Regions from separate parts of the Homo sapiens genome. Here region 1 is linked to region 2. The links are contacts of gene promoters, found by promoter capture Hi-C in human tissues and cell types (Jung and others, 2019). All regions are on one chromosome and are shown on one strand. Each heading gives the region's core, a stretch centred on a gene start or on the middle of the fragment in contact. The rest is flanking DNA. Distances are from core to core; before and after follow the strand shown.

Region 1 (2,700 bases), core at 52-2,551, 260 kb before region 2:
GGTGGTGCTTCCCTTGTCTCTGTCTCCCGGACCAAAGGGTCTTGCAGGGGCCTGCCCATCACAGTCCGGATCCCACCAAGTTTGAGCAGCAGTAAAGCCAGGTTAAAAGGGTCACCAGAGTGACTCTGAGGAGGAAACGGTGTCTCAGGGGGCATTGGCTGCCCTGGGGCATGGGACTGTGGACTGGGGAAGGGTCTGTGTTTCCTTTTGATGGTGGTGGAGGGTGGCTATTTGTCTATGAATGCCTTGGGTATTTTCTTCATTTTTAATGCGTAAGCTTATCATGCTGTCCCCGCCTCACCCCACTCCCTGGCTGCTCCCCTGCCAACATGGGGGAGCCCTCGGTTTTTGAACAAAGCGGAAATGAGCAGGGATTTCCAGGCATGCACAGGTTGGGGGTTGGGGGTTGGGGGAGGCAGGAAGGTGGCCTGAGGCTCTGTGAAATAAGCCTCTCCCATTGCTTGTTCTGCCTGGCATGTCCCTACACCCAAGGAGTGTGGCGCTTAGTGCCCATGTCGTTGTTGCTCTGATCCTCAATGAGCAAAACACTTAGTACAGTCACTTCCTAATGCTCATGTTCCCAGAGAGAGACAGGAGTGTGAATAACCCAGACAAGGGGACATTAAGTCCCACATGGTCATGTCCGTGTCTACACAGAACATACTTGGTAATTTTCTTGATAATATGGTTAATTTGTGTTCCTCACTATGCTTGGCTAATGTGAGTAGTAACACAAAATTCTATTTTCTGAGATCCCAAAGATTGAAGCAGGGAACAGTTAGAGACACGGGCTGGGGGAAGGAACTCTCTTGGGCATAGGTGTTTGTGAGGATGGGTTGAAGCAGAGTGGGTTGAGAATTGGTGGTGGAGTGTTAGTGGTTTCAGGAGAAAGGAAAAGATGACAAATCCCAAGCGTACCTGTTTCTTTGAACAGGTTATTATCCATACTTCTAATCCTCTGGAAGCTTTGTGTGTTTGTGGGGAAGGATATCACTAACATTTACATAAGAATTGAATACAGACAGCAGGTCTGATTTTCTCTGATGCTGGTGTTAGCTTGGTTTGTGATGTTTCTAAGCAGGAAGGAGCCCAGGGCAGAGATCTGGGATCACTCCCATGGCCCACTTTATTGTTTGGGCCTCTTGAACTTCTGGCTTTTCCTCGATCTCTCAATTTCAGGTCACTTGACTTCTTCAGAATTTTTTCTTTCTAATAAAATGTTAATCCTTAGTTACCCTTGGACTGTACCCTTTGCATTCCGAGGGGAATAGTTCTTTGATCAGGAGAGAGCTGCAGGAGCCCCAGCATCCTTTGAGCCAGAAGAGCTTGCTGTGGTGGGTTTTTGCTGTTGGCTGCAAGGAGGGCTGGGGCAGAGGCTTACCTCCCCATAAGCAAAAGGCACCTCTGGCCAGCTGAATCTGTTGAATGGTATTTGCACACAAAGCACGGAAATGTATTAAAAAATTCATTCCTATCTCCCAGGTTCTGGCTGTTTGACTTTTCAATCCATGGTGCCGTTATTTTTTGGGTATCAGATTTGGCATTTTTGTTTTGCTCAGCCCAGATCCATGGTAACATGAAGCTGTTTTCCCCAAGCATAGACTCTCTGTAGCATCTCAGAACCATAGGAGGCAGCAGACCTGGTAAGGACTCTACCCACTCATCTCATAGACCCCAGACTGACATGCAAAGCATGAAAGCCACTTCCTGCCCAAGGACTCACCGAGACCTGGCAGTCTTGGCAGAATTGGGGCTCAAATTTCCATTTCCTGATGTTTCAGCCCCTGGGATTTAACGTTTCCTGTGGGTGAATGATGTCCCCTAAATTGAAAGTTGGCCTATTGTGATTGTCACCATGCCCTCAGGGCCCAAACAGCTGGGAAAAAGGAGGCAGCAGGCAAGAGACCTGGAGGAGGCCCGCCAGGTGTCAGCCAGCAAACCTCAAACAGAGCAGCAGCCTAAGCACTCAGAAGCAGCCAGCAGCCTCCAGTGGGGCTACAGCCCTTTGGGCCTAAAGTGAGGATGCACAAGGCCCTATCTTCTCCTCTCAGAGAAAGAGGCTGCAGGATGGGGCAGCAGGGGGCTGGCAGACACCTGCTTGATGACGGTGACAGCTAATGGGGAGATGGAGCTGAGGGCAAGAGGACTGGATGTCTCTACCTCCTGCTGCACCAGCTGCCTGCATTCATCCAGCACATCCCAGGCCTGGCATATCTTGGAGCCCCATCCTGGGACTCAGTGGGAGGTCAGAGCCAGGAGGAGATACTTCCTGTCCTTATGGAATTTCCAGCTTGATCCAGACACACCCGTTGACATCCCTGGCCCAGATCCGCAGAGACAAAACCAGAGATTCTCAGGGTTCCAGACACTATATGATGGGGGCGGGGGAGGGCTGGGGGGTGTAGGGGTGAGGGTGGTAGCTTTGGGGAGCAGAGGAGGGCCCTGAGCAAAGGCAAATGGGAGGAGGGATGTGGGATGGCCTATGTGTCCACAAGGGGTATGTAGGAGAGAGTGTCTCTGGGCTGCCTCAGAGGGTAGACTTGTCTCCTTGGGGTGGAGTCCATGACTGGGAGGATGAGCACCGCATGGAGGGGTTGGACAGGGCTGAGGAGTAGCTGGGGAAGGAGGTGACAGAGGAAGCCTGCATTTGGCATAAGAAGCACACACATGTGCCAGGAAGTGACTTGAGCCAGGCAGGAG
Region 2 (2,700 bases), core at 198-2,697:
TCTCCCATTCCCCAGACAAGTTCTACCATGCTGCACGTGCTGTCTCCCTAGATTGCCTTTTCCCCACCTCCATCTGAAAACTCCTACTCATGCCTCACCACCCTACCTCACTGTCGCTCCGGGTGAGCTTCCCCTGCTCCTCTAAGCTTAGGAAGTCTCTGCTTCCCAATACCTTCCTACCACTTTGTTCCTCAGTGATTCTCAAACCTGAGTGTACATCAGCATCACCTGGAGAGCTTGTTAAAATGCAGGGTGCTGGGCCCTGCTGCAGAGTCTCTGATTCAGTTGCTCTGGGGTGGAGCCTGAGAGTGTGCATTCTAACAAGCGTCCAGGTGACGTTGCTGCTGCTGGTTCCAGGGCCACCTTTGAGAACCACTGCTCTAGGGCACCGTGACCTCCAGCTGCCTTGCCTCATAGGCTGTGTGTGTTACGGACTGAGTCTGAGCTTTCAGGGGACACAGGAGGAACAGCTGGGTCGCATGGCAGTCTAGATGCCCCAGGCTGTCAAGGGCATCTCCTTCGCCTAGCTTCTAAGTCTCACAGGCTGTCACTCTGCTACTTCTCAACTCAGAGACCGCTCTCATTGCTTCCTGGACACCTTCCTGGGCTAGGCTGCTGGCTCCTCTCACCCCTCCAACCCTGGTCCCTTGCCTCTGATGTCCAGGCTTTGTCCAGTTCCTCCCTGGGCTATGTCTGCATCCTGGGGAGGTGTCCTGCCTTCGTCTGCTTCAGACAGGGAGCACCCCAAGGACAATGAAGGCGGGGGAAGGAAGGGGCTCTACGGCATGAGCAAGCCTTATGGGCCCAGCACCTGGGGAGCTTTCAAGTTGTTTACCTGGTGTCTGATTTTGCTGGGAGAAAATGATTTCTTGCTCTCAGGCAAATTGAACCACAAATTAGGGCAGTGGCTCCCTCCTGAGTCCTTAAAAGGGGAGCCCAAGATCAGCTTTCTCCAGAAAGACCCACCTTGTCAATGAAGGAGGCGAACTTGTTGTTCAGCACCTTGATCTGCTCCCGCTCCTGGGCACGCACTTTCTGGATTTCAGGGTCCAGCTCCACGTTCAGGGGTGCCAGGAGGCTCTTGTTGATGGTGACCTGATGGATACCCCCGGGCGGGCACAACGACGGACACACGGACCCCAAGGCCACACTGCCAAACATGCTGCCAGCAAAGCCACTGGCCCGGCCCCGGCCAAATCCATAGCCTCCTGCCCACCCACTGCCACTGGCCACATTGAAAGAGATGCTCCGGGCACCCCCCAGGCTGTAAAGGCTCCGACTGCTGAAGCCTCCACTGAGCCCTTTGCCCCCTGCTCGGTAGGAGGATGAGCTGCCCCCTGAGAGCACAGCGGAGCAGCCGCTGAAGCCCCCCTTGGCAGCAGCTCCCGACTTGTAGGTGAATTGGCGGCTCATGGTGGGGAGGCCAGAAAGTGGGGATAAGATGCTGACCCTTAGCTGAGATGCAGTTCACCAGCCTGTGATCCTGGGCTCCCACTTTATAGGACTCAAGAGGGAGCCATGGGCCTAATTTGTGGGTTCAGTTTGCCTGGAAGCAAGAAATCATTTTCTCCCAGCAAAATCAGACACCAGGTAAATGACTTGAAAACTCCCAAAGTGCTAGTCTTGCAAGTCTTGCTCATGTAATTTGAGTTTTATCTAATGAACATGTGTAATTAGCATGGGCACATTATCCATAGAAAGATCTTAGGTGGGAGGTTTGTCGCAGTCTCAATTGCTGTTCCCCAGGGAGTGGTGGGGCCTGGGATTGTAGGGGTACAGAGGGGAGACCTTTAATTGACAGTGTCATCTGTTAGAAATCTCACAACCATGCCAGCATCAGATGGGCTGCTTCAGGGACCCTGGCTGAGCTGCTTTTATGTGGTTAAGAAGAGGCTGCTGCTGCCTGGCTTCCCAGAGTTCCTGGAGACAGGTTTGATGGCTGGCCAGGGCCATAGGAGAGGAGCACACTGGGAATCCAGGACCAGCCTCTGGCTGCCAGCCCCCTGCTGTGCCCTCCCAGGCAGCTCTCCTGCTCCTCTGTGCCAGCCGGGCTGCCCTGCTCACCTTCCTTTGCACACACTGACTTCTTTTTCCCTTTACCATCCCACTACCCTGACTCTTGACCTTGAAATTATGGTCATTGCACCATTCACGATGGCTGACACTGGTGCAGCACTTTACAGTGTAACAGAGCTCCTCACACAAGAAGCTCATTTAATCCACTTAGTCTGCATGGAGGGGAATGGTGATGATCCACATTACACAAATGGGGAAACCAAGGTTCAGATAATTGAGGATGTCATTCCTTTAGCAAACATTTAGTGAGTCCTTTCTTTGTGTGAATCCCAGAGAATGAAAATGCCCCCAAAAAGCACAGGCCCCAGCCTTGAGGACTCCCTTGGCTGGTCTTCTGACTCCACATTCAGAGCTATGCCCGCCTTATTCATTCGTCCATCTATCCGTCCAACCAGCCAGCCAGCCATCTACTTGTTCATTCATTTATCCATTCGTTTAACAGACTTCTCTTGAGGGCTGACTCTCTCCCAGGTACTGTGCTAGGCTCTTGGGTCCCGAATTATGAAGACCAAACCTAGCTCACAATTTTGGAGATGGGGAGGTAGGGGAAGACATTTGAATTTCATGGATCCTTGACATTGCCAAAGTATGTGACCCAAGAGTTTCCCAAATCCCAAATCCCAA

What was found. Contacts are between HindIII fragments. The study calls those that stand out against the background at their distance.
Region 1: a fragment that was not itself captured here is called in contact with the fragment with the promoter of KRT73 in region 2 in 2 of the 25 tissues and cell types used here (spleen and thymus).

Annotation. Positions count from the first base shown.
Region 1 is chr12:52,357,032-52,359,731 of GRCh38, forward strand. No RefSeq gene overlaps it. Among named protein-coding and RNA genes, the nearest start is that of KRT85, 9.1 kb to the right of the region's middle. The HindIII fragment of the contact is 6,815 bases long and covers 1-2,700 here.
Region 2 is chr12:52,617,112-52,619,811 of GRCh38, forward strand. KRT73 (keratin 73) reads right to left here and starts at 1,448. Exons shown (of 9, transcript NM_175068.3): 1 at 967-1,448. The coding sequence starts at 1,413. The HindIII fragment of the contact is 11,365 bases long and covers 1-2,700 here.